2 separate regions of the Homo sapiens genome follow, and region 2 is linked to region 1. Evidence: promoter capture Hi-C in 16 types of primary human blood cells and fetal thymus (Javierre and others, 2016). All regions are on one chromosome and are shown on one strand. Each heading gives the region's core, a stretch centred on a gene start or on the middle of the fragment in contact. The rest is flanking DNA. Distances are from core to core; before and after follow the strand shown. Region 1 holds the start of KIAA1614. Region 2 has its middle 6.6 kb from the start of LINC01732.

Region 1 (5,273 bases), core at 1,193-3,692:
ATCTATACTAAAAATACAAAAAATTAGCCAGGCACGGTGGTGGGCACCTGTATTCCCAGCTACTTGGGAGGCCGAGGCAGGAGAATGGCGTGAACCTGGGAGGCGGAGCTTGCAGTGAGCCGAGATAGCGCCACAGCACTCCAGCCTGGGTGAAAGAGCGAGACTCCGTCTCAAAAAAAAAAAAAAAAAAAAAAAAAGAAAAGGAGACAATAGCCACTGCCTACTTCTTAAGGCTGAAATACGAGATAATGAATTTAAACTGCTTAGCCAATGCCTGGTGCCAGTATGCCCACTGCAAATAGTGCAGGCACCACTCTGTGAAGCGATCAATACTAAAAAGCAAAAGCAGTCAATGCTTTGTTAAAGGAACTTCTTGTTCTGGGAACATGGTGAGTTTCGGGGAGGGAAGAGGCCACCCAGGACCCTGGAGACCACCTGTCACCAGAGCTGTGTAACTGCTACAGGAGAGGTGTCCCAATCCAGACCACAAGAAAGGGTTCTTGCATCTCTCGCAAGAAAGAATTCAGGGCAAGGCTGGGCGTGGTGGCTCATGCCTGTAATCCCAAACTTTGGGAGGCCGAGGCAGGTGGATCACTTGAGGCCAGGAGTTCGAGACCATCCTGGGCAACATGGTGAAACCCCATCTCTACTAAAAATACAAAAAGTAGCCAGGCGTGGTGGTGCATGTCTATAGCCCCAGCTACTCAGGAGGCTGAGGTGGGAGAATCCATCGCCCCACTGCCCTCCAGCCTGGGCAACAGAGCAAGACTCTGTCTCAAAAAAAAAAAAAAAAAAAAAAAAGCAAGGTGCGTTCACAGTGCAAAGCAAAAGCAAGTTTAGTAAGAAAGTAAAGTGGTGAAAGTACAGCTACTCCATAGACAGAGGAGGGAGTTCTGGAAAGTACGAGGAGGAACGCATCCACCCTGGGTACAATACTCGCTTACACAGGATAAAAAAGGATCATGGGGAGATGTGCTGTGCTACAAGGGTTTGTGATAAAGGATTAATTTTCTTAGTTACTATATTTTGCAATAATCGATATTATTAACTTTAAAGCATAATTACAAATGAGTCTGTTCTCAAGATATCAGGATATCAGGACACTCCTAAGTCTGGGTCTGTTTAGCAAACGTTATTAATTTGTTCTCTTAACCGTAAATATCTAGAAGCTGGGTATAGCTAACTCACTGGGAATGTGGCCCAGCAAGTCCCAGCCTCATTTTCCTCGCCCTCACACAAGATGGAGTCGCTCTGGTTCGAAGCCTCTGACGTAACCTTGGGCCTGTACTGTGACACAGAGGGTTTGCACTGGATAATCTCTCAAGCTCCTAGATTGCCAAGACGCCAGTCCACTCACAGCTCCCCAGGCTCCGCTCTCCTGTTGCCCTGCCAGACGCCCCTTCCCCCACCTTGTGCAGAGTAACCCCCTCCTGACTCAAGAGGCAGCCCCTCTAGAAAACTTCCTTCCCCTCCTCCCCTGCCCCGGTACATATTGCGCGGCCCTTACTGTTGCTGTGTCTGTCCTGTCATCTGGAGGTGCACAACTACCCCATGCTTCACAGTGAAGCCAGTCGGCTGAAGGAAAGATGAACGGGCACTTTCTCTTTGTAGAGATTTCCGGAATCTCCTGAGGCCACTTTTATTGCTTCCCGTCTTTGTGAAAAAATAGGCTTGGAAATAGGTGAGGCTCGGTCACCCCCTCTGGGTGGAAGGAGAAAGCAAGCTCCGTCGGTTTGGGCCGCGGCTGCAGGGAATGCCCCTGGTTGCGACCCCCGTCCCGCGCTGGGGAAAGTGATCTGCTCGAGAGCCCCCAGGACCCTGAGAACCGGTCCCCACCCAAGGCGGCGGCGGGCAATTCCGGCACCGCGGCAGACGGGATGCGCGGAGCGCGTTCCCTCCGGGTTTCCCTCACGCCTCTGGAGAGCGGGAACCAACGACCTTGACCTCGGAGGAAACGGCTCTACGGAGCGATGGACGGCCCCACAGAGAGGGCGGCCGGCTCCTCTGGAAAACTTGTCCACACAAAAGGCATTCCTCAGCTTCCACCCCGAAAGGCGAGCCCTGGGTGTAGGGTTACCAGCGGCGCGCGGAGCCCGCCGAGAACGTGGTGCGCCCCCAGCTCCTGCCCGCGCTCCCCGGCCTCCGTGCGCCCCGCGCGCCTCCGCTCTTGCGCCCGCTTTCCCGCGGGGAAGGGGCCACCGCCCTGCGAGGCTGGCGGCCGCCCCGTCGTCCCCAAGCTCGGGGCCGCCCTGGACTTCCATCCCGCGCCTCTGACGGCCGGGGACACTCGCTCCCTGGGCCGCGGCTCAGGAGAGGCGGCCCCGCGGGGCTCCGGGCGGGGTGGGAGGCCGAGGCCCGGCTCCTCCAGCCCCTCCCGCGGCCCCACCTCTCCGCGCTCGGCTCCCTCTGCCCAGCGCGGGCCGGGAAGGCGCGGGCTTGGCCGCTCTTCCCCTCCACGGCAAAGCCGTGAACGGACAGCTGATGCCACTTCCTTCCCTGCCAGCGCCCTCCCTGCCCGACCCCGCTTCCCGTCCTCTCGCCGGGAGGGAGTGCGGCCCGTGGGGCGCTGCGCCGGCCAGACCCACCCGGGGCCCGGGGGCTGCCAGCAGAGCCGGGAGCTGGCCCGGCCTCGGCGCCGTCCCGGACCCCCAGTCGGCCGCGCCCCGAGGGGCGAGGCCTGCGGGCCGCACTCCCTCCGGCCCCGGATTCGGGGCTGGAAGTCCCTCCCCGAACCCAGCAGCTGGCCTGGGAGGGAGAAGGGGCTGGAGAGGGCCTGGCCTCTCCGAGGGATGGAGGGGACAGAGGCGGCGGCGGCCAAACCCGCGGGCGGCAGCCCCCAGTGAGTATAGAGGAGGCAGCGCCGGGCCGGCCGGGCGGGGGTGGCGGACCGGCGGGGCGGAGGAGCGGGGAGCCCAGGTCGCCCCGGCCACTGGGAAGCGGGCCTCCCACGGGCTCGGAGCTGGAAGGGTCGTGGGGAGGCCCGCCCTTCACGTCCATCTTCGTTTGGCCCCTCTGAGTTAGGGGAAATACATCACAGTGCTTGGGCCATAGAACCAGGCAGCTCCGAGCTGACCGATCTTCCCGAAAGCCCGTGCCCAGGGGACTCCAGTGGGAGGGTCTCATTCTTTAAGGTCTCTGGCGTGCTGTTCCAGAGTTTACCCATCAACAATTCTTACTTTAATTTTTTGGAGCCAGGGTCTCGCTCTGTCGCCCAGGCTGGAGTGCAGTGGTGCGATCATGGCTCACTGCAACCTCGACCTCCCGGGCTCAAGCCCGGCCTCCTCTGGCTTCAGCCTCCCCAAAAACAAAAAGTTATTTTAACTTAACAGAAATTGCTCATATTACATTCTAATCCCCTGTTTTCTGGATTGGACTTTAGAGGAGAAGAAGGAGATGCAAAGAGAAACTTGCTGCATTCTAGATTAACTCATAGAACAAATTATTTCTGTCCTCCTAAAGATAATCCTTAAACTTTACTGGCTTAAAACTGGTGTGACATTTCGCATTATATGTGTATTTTGCTTTATAAAATATGTGCATTCCTGAAAGCTTGTGTATAAATTGAATTGTAATAAACGACTACAGAGAGACTTGCCATTTAAGAGAATTTTATGGTGAATACTTGGTCCGTGTTACGAAGTGGATAACTCCTAATTTGTAGTGTATACACATAAGGATTTTTATGCACAAAGTTTACTTCAAGGGGGGGGGGACATCTAGATGTGTGATATTAAAGTTGTATTTTTCTCAGAAGGTAGAATCAATATTAAAACGCTGTGGCATGTAGATATGCATGCAACACCCTGAGTCAAACCCCTGCTCACCTTCATTCCTTGTGAAGGGATAAACATCAGCCATGCTGCTAAGGATCTGTGCAGCGCTGACAAGCCACCTAGCCTCTGGGGATGGAACATTATCATTTACAGAATAAGGGGAGTAGGGTTAAGTGATCACTACATGTTTTGGAAAAGGCCTGGGCTTGGAATGAGAAGCTTTGGTTTCCAAACTGGGCCTCCTCTTAGCACCTGTGTATTGTAATCTGTGCCTCAGTTTCTCCATCTGTAGAAGTATATAATAAAGCCATTCTTTCTTTTCTTTTCTTTTCTTTTTTTTGAGACAGAGTCTCGCTCTATCGCCCAGGCTGGAGTGCAGTGGCGGGATCTCGCCTCACTGTAACCTCCGCCTTCTGGGTTCAAGTGATTCTCCTGCCTCTGCCTCCCAAGTAGCTGGGACTACAGGCACCTGCCACCACACCCAGCTAATTTTTTGTATTTTTTATTTTTATTTATTTTTTTTATTTTTGAGACAGAGTCTTGCTCTGTCGCCCAGGCTGGAGTGCAGTGGTGCAATCTTGGCTCACTGCAACCTCTGCCTCCCGAGTTCAAGCAATTACCTTGCCTCAGCCTCCTGAGTAGCTGGGACTACAGGTGAGCAGCACTCCTGACCTCAGGATCCACCCGCCTCGGCCTCCCAAAGTGCTGGGATTACAGGTGTGAGCCACCGCGCCTAGCCAATTTTTTGTATTTTTAATGGAGGAGGGGGTTTCACCATGTTGGCCAGGCTGGTCTCGAGCTCCTGACCTCAAGTGATCCACCCGCCTCAGCCTCCCAAAATGCTGGGATTACAGGTGTGAGCCACCGCTCCTGGTCAATAATGCCATTGTGTTAGGGACAGGATTATTGGGGGGAGTGTGTTTGAAAGCACTTGCAGTCCCGCCTGGCATAGAGCAGATGCCTAATCGGCGTTCCTGACTGGTCAAGGTCTCCCTTTGAGCTCAACCCCATGCTGTGGTCCTGTGGCTTGTGCATCAGGGGTCAGGGGTGAGGTTGGATGCAGCACCTTCTACTGGAGGTCAGATCCTGCTTGGTGTCTTCCTGATGTCTATCATCCTCATTGGCTCCCCTTGGAGAGGGAAGAGCATGTTGCCTGTTAGCAGATGCGGGCATCCTCCACTGAAGCTACCCTTCAGCAAAGTAAGAGGCCAGGGATTGGGAAATCACCCTGGTTTTCACTCTGGTCCACATTTGGCATAGGATTAGTTGTCCTCTGAAGCTTCATTTTGCCCGTCTATAAAATGGGGATAGAAAAACTAGAACACTACTGAGACTTGGAAGAAAAAATTCAACAATAACTTATTTGCACTCTTCAATGACTTGCATTTTTTTAAAAGTGCTTTCACGTTATCTATAGCAGGGCTCCCCAACCCCCGGGGCCACGAACCAATAGCGGTCCACAGCCCATAGCAGTCTGTGGCCTGTTAGGAACCAGGCCGC
Region 2 (5,307 bases), core at 2,509-5,008, 260 kb after region 1:
GCAGTCTTGTTTTGTTGATTATTGTATCTTGAGCACCTAAAACAGTGTCTAGGACATGGTAGGTGCTTAGAATATTTGCTAAATAAATAATCAATTCCTTAAAAAGTCAGTGTCACATTGCCCTACCATTTTCACTTCTTCTGAAGTGAATTCAATTCCTACCATTACATTTTTAGATTACATTTTTTGACTGCCTTTTTAGTCTTTCTCTTGTGGGAGTTATTATTAGTAATTTTAGTCTCTCTCTATGCTCATTCCCTTTCAACCTAGTGGTTTTGCAGTAGCTTCTTTTTGGTCCTCGCAGCCCCCAATTCAGAACCAGATTTTCAATTGTCAGCTCAGGTATCCATACTGCCATGATTTGGGGACGTTGCTGATCCCAACACTGAGCCAGGGGACCTCTTTGGCAAGGTTCCTCTTCAACTGGGATAAGAAGCTTTGTATAAGTCTCAGCCCCAGCATTTTATATTCCTGGTTCTTGGGTGTGAAAGCCCCACCCAGTTTCTGGACTGGGAACCCCTGGCCATGTATAGTTCCCCTTTTACCACAAGAGAAGAGAAAAGCTCCTGGCCACCTCTGCCTGAGTGGTGACCTGGAGAACCTATAGCACCATTTCTGCTGTAGAATTGTATTTCTGTGTTTCTCTGATCCTTGGAGATGCTGATCTTTTTTTTTTTTTTTTTTCCTGGAATGCAATGGCGTGATCTCGGCTCACCGCAACCTCCTGGGCTCAAGCGATTCTCATGCCTCAGCCTCCTGAGCAGCTGGCAGTACATGAACTTGCCACCACGCCCAGCTAATTTTTATATTTTTAGTAGAGACAGGGTTTCACCATATTGCCTAGGCTGGTCTCGAACTCCTGACCTTAGGTGATCCACCTGCAGCAGCCTCCCAAAGGGATGGGATTACATGCGTGAGCCACTGCGCCCGGCCAAGATGCTGATCTTCCGGAGCAAGGCTTGGACTTTCATTTTTAAAATTTTTATATCTTATGTATTATTGCTAGGTGTTTGGAGTGGTGGGGGGCACTTAAAGCATGGATTTACAGTACCATTGTGCCTGGAAGGTGTTTGTGTCCCCCATTAAACCTATTGGAACAGCAGGCCCGCGGGGTTCACTCTGGAATGGCTGCAATGCTGACGTTGGAGGACATGTTAAAGCTCACCTAGCTCTACCTCATCTTACAGAAGCAAGGCCCAGTGGCTTGCTTCAGGCCCCGCATTTTGATAGCCTCGGAGCCAGGAAGGTAAACGTGACTCCGCGCCTGGGTCTTTGAACACTTGCCTTTGAACATCTGATGTTTTTCACGCAGAATGGCCTTCCTGCTTTGCTGCTGTCTGAGCCTCACAGTTTAAGGGTCAGCTCTAGTTCTACCCAGTTTTCTGTAGTCTTTTCTTCTTCCCCAGGCATATGGCACTTAAAAGGGAGGGAAAGAGCATGGGTTTTAATCATTACCTAGTGCCGACCCTGTAGTGGCTCTGCATGTGGGCTGGGCGGAGTGTCTTCACAGTTAATGGCTGTGTGAACGCTCACATTTTATATACGCCACTGCTCTCTAGTGGTCAACCCAGGCATCAACTCTGTAGTCTGGAACAGTGAGTAAAGCCACCCCAAGCCGTTCATAGCAAACATTAAGGTTCTCATAGTCATAACTTTCCTACCATTCATGGAAAAAAAAGTTCAAGTCCTGTTTATTTGGTCTTTCAAAGCCAAATATATTATATTTATTTATATAATCAGAAACTATATATCTACCTCTGTATGTAGAGGTACACACATTCTCCCATTGAAGTTGATCATTTAAGCACCACTGTCCCATAGAAATATCACACAGGGCTGAGGCCAGGCATGGTGGCTCATGCCTGTAATCCCAGCACTTTGGGAGCGTAAGGAAGGAGAATTGCTTGAGCCCAGCAGTTTAAGACCAGCCTGGGCAACATAGCGAGACCCTGTCTCTACAAAAAATAAAAAAATTAGCCAGCGGTAGTGGTGCACATCTGTAGTTCCAGCTACTCGGGAGTCTGAGGCAGGAGGATCACTTGAGCCTGGGAGGTTGAGGCTGCAGTGAGCCGTGATTGTGCCACTGTACTCCAGTCTGGGTGATGAGACTCCATCTCCAAAAAAAACAAAAAAACAAAAAAAACCCAGAAATATAACATGAGCCACATAGTAACTTAAAATTTTCTAGTTGCCGCATTAAAAAATAAAAAACATGTTAAATTCATTTTAATGATATAATTTATTTAACCGAATATATCTAAAATATTATCATTTCAACATGTAATCAATGTAAAAATTACTCACCAGATATTGTATATTCTTTTCTTGATAAGTTTTTGAAATCTGGTATGAATTTTACACTTATAGCACACCTCAGTTCAGACCAGCCTCACTGCAATTGTGGGTAGCCACATGGGACTAGTGGCTACTGCTTTGGACAGCAAAGGTCAAGGGCGGTGGTTTCCAAACTCCGTCCTTGCTCTTGCAATCTCCGGGGAGGGGAGAGGAGCTGAAGTTTAAGTTGATCACCAATGGCCAGTGGCTTTATCAATCATGCCTCATAATGAAGCTTCCATAAAAACCCAAAGAGACAGTGTTCGGAGAACTTCCGGATAGCCGAACACGTGGAGGTTCTTGGAGGGTGGCGTGCTCAGGGAAGGTATGGAAGCTCCATGCTTCTTCCCCCATACCTTGCCCTATGCCTCTCTTTGTTTATATTCTTTGTAATATCCTTCATAATCTGGTAAACATGTTTCCCTGAGTTCTGTAAGCCACTCTGGCAAATTAATCAAACCTAAAGAAATGTGGAAAGCCCAGCTTGAGGATCTGTGACTGGTGTCTGGAGGAAGAGGGAGGCATTCTTGTGGGACTGAGCCCTCAACCTGTGGGATCTGATGCTATCTCCAGGTAGACAGTGTCCGAATTGAATTGGAAGATACCCCTGCAGCTCACGTCTGCTGCTGAATTGATTGCTTGCATGTTGGTGGGGTAAAACCACCGAGTATTTGGTCACAGAAGTCTGTTGTTTTTTGAGACAGAGTCTTGCTCTGTCACCCAGGCTGGAATGCAGTGGTGCAACCTCCGCCTCCTGGATTCAAGCAATTCTCATGCCTCAGTCACCCAAGTTGCTGGGATTACAGGTGTGTACCACCACAGCTGGCTCATTTTTGTATTTTTAATAGAGAAGGGGTTCTTACCATGTTGGCCAGGTTGGTCTCGAACTCCTGGCCTCAAGCTATCTGCTTGGCTTGGCCTCCCAAAGTGCTGGGATTATAAGCTTGAGCCACTGAGCCCGGCCAAAAGTCTTCTGTATTGATGTTGTTGGTGGTGTGAGAGCAGAAGAAACATTGTTCACGTTTGTTCCACTCACCTTGGCTGTTGCCACACACCTTGGAGGATGGCATTGCAATTTTGTGTGCCTCCTTTTAAATGCAGAGCAATGGAAGCTGATAAAATATAAGAAGAGAAAGCCACTGTTTTATGGGGAAGGTCGTTAATATCCTCCCAGGCTTTTAACAGGCCTAAATCTGAGGTGGTACTGGATCAGTTTGTCCCATTTCATGGGGCTGAGGGACAGAGGGGGAAGAATCTTTTTTGGGAGCAGCAGTTTTCCCCTCTGTACTCTGGAAGGAGCATCTTCTTGCAGTTGCTCCAAGTTGCAGACTGGTCTCAGGGTCCTCTCATCTCTAATTGGTGTCCCCCTTGGTTCATCTGTCTGACTGCATGTCCTAGCAAGTCACAGTCCTATCCCAGGCATCAAGGCTGAATTTCAAGGTGTCCTTAAGGTATGTCTTCTGGTCACCCTGTTTATAAATGCAGGCCTTAATTCTCCACTCAGCAGCCTCTACGGCACTCATTAGTAGCTGTGTTTCTTTTTTCAAATATAACCTTTATGGTAGAGTCATAATATGGAAAAGATGCCAGCAGATTGAAATTTTGTAAATCAAATAATTTTGATTGCTCTGGGAGCTCACAATTTAAGGAATCCTGTGGTGAATTCTTTTGTAGACCGAGTAATCAGCCCTCTCTTTGTTTTAAAAATTCAAGTTTTAATATATTATCTTGCCTGAGGGAGATGATTCCACACATATTAAAAATAAAAAAGATGCAAAGAAAAGATCCCATCTTCATGCTCCCCTTCCATATTTAAGTGGCAGTCTGTAATCACAATTATCCGGCTCTCAAGCAATTACACTAAATATTAATGAAAGAACCCTAGTCACACAACTGCGCCCAAGGGAAGCTTCTGCCTGAAAGTCAGGGTTAATGGCCTCACAATCGTTTTAATGGATTTTCAATGAAGTGTGAAGATGACAGGCCAACAAGGGTGAGGTTCCATGACAGAGCACAATTAGCATCTTCCCATTAGTACCTGACCTTGTTTCTATTTTTATTTCTTTACAATCCTGGTGAACTGATTCCCTGAGTATGTATTTATTAGTTTATGTTGAACACAACTCATAAGACCTTTGTTAACTCAGAGTAAGAGCGCCCATCTCCACTGCTTCTGCGGGAGAGGTGTTATAGCTTTGTTCCGTGGGGGGTATTGGTAAAGACCCTCCTGATGATGTTTAGACAGCAAGGCTGATGCCCGCACATTCTAATGACTGACACGCTGCTGCTTTCTACTGGCCCTTTCTAACTCCCTGGCCCCCTTGTGTTCCACCCTTGTGACTCCAACCCCTGAAGAACTCGGCCTGAGACACCCAGCTCCCAGTGCCTGATCCTCTGTTGTTTCTTTGTCCTCTGGAGTAATTGCTAGTGGTTACAAGCTCAGCCCCTGGAATCACATTGATTGGGATGGAATCCTTCCTCTACTAGCTGTGTCTTTTGGCAAGTCACTTGATCGTTTGGTGCCTCAGTTTCCTCAGCTGTAAGATCAGCCTTTAGTGCCTGTGGGCAAGCCAAGGGCCTTCTGTGGAACTCCTCCAGGGTGCCCTGTCTTCCTCCCGCATTTTGAGTCCACGTTCTTAAACCCCAGGAGTTTCCTTGACTCCCCTCTTAGCACTTCTGGGGACTCAGATTTTGCTCCGAATCTCTGGTTCCCTGACTGAGTCCCCTCTTTCAGAAAGGCTGCAGAAACTCTTTTTCCTTGTTTTAAAATTGGTGTTCTAACCTAGGGATTGGCAGACTATGGCCTGCCAACCACATCTAGCCCACAACTTATTGTTATAAATAAAGTTTTATTGGAACAAGCCAGGCTTATTCATTTATGTATTGTCTATGGCTGCTTTCAGGCTGCCACAGCAGAAGTGCGTAGCTGTGACAGAGACAGTGGCTCACAAGTCTAAAATATTACTATCTGGC

What was found. Contacts are between HindIII fragments. The CHiCAGO score rates a contact against its expected background, and 5 or more counts as called.
Region 2: a contact is called between a fragment that was not itself captured here and the fragment with the promoter of KIAA1614 in region 1, in 10 of 17 cell types (megakaryocytes, fetal thymus, erythroblasts and 7 more). The highest score is 16.4, in megakaryocytes.

What each region holds. Positions count from the first base shown.
Region 1 is chr1:180,910,455-180,915,727 of GRCh38, forward strand. KIAA1614 reads left to right here and starts at 2,443. Exons shown (of 9, transcript NM_020950.2): 1 at 2,443-2,839. The coding sequence starts at 2,790. LINC02816 (long intergenic non-protein coding RNA 2816) reads left to right here. Exons shown (of 4, transcript NR_185877.1): 4 at 1-3,602. RefSeq lists a silencer at 2,239-2,538. The HindIII fragment of the contact is 8,183 bases long and covers 1-3,547 here.
Region 2 is chr1:181,165,211-181,170,517 of GRCh38, forward strand. No RefSeq gene overlaps it. Among named protein-coding and RNA genes, the nearest start is that of LINC01732, 6.6 kb to the right of the region's middle. RefSeq lists silencers at 1,522-1,571, 1,582-1,651. The HindIII fragment of the contact is 966 bases long and covers 3,276-4,241 here.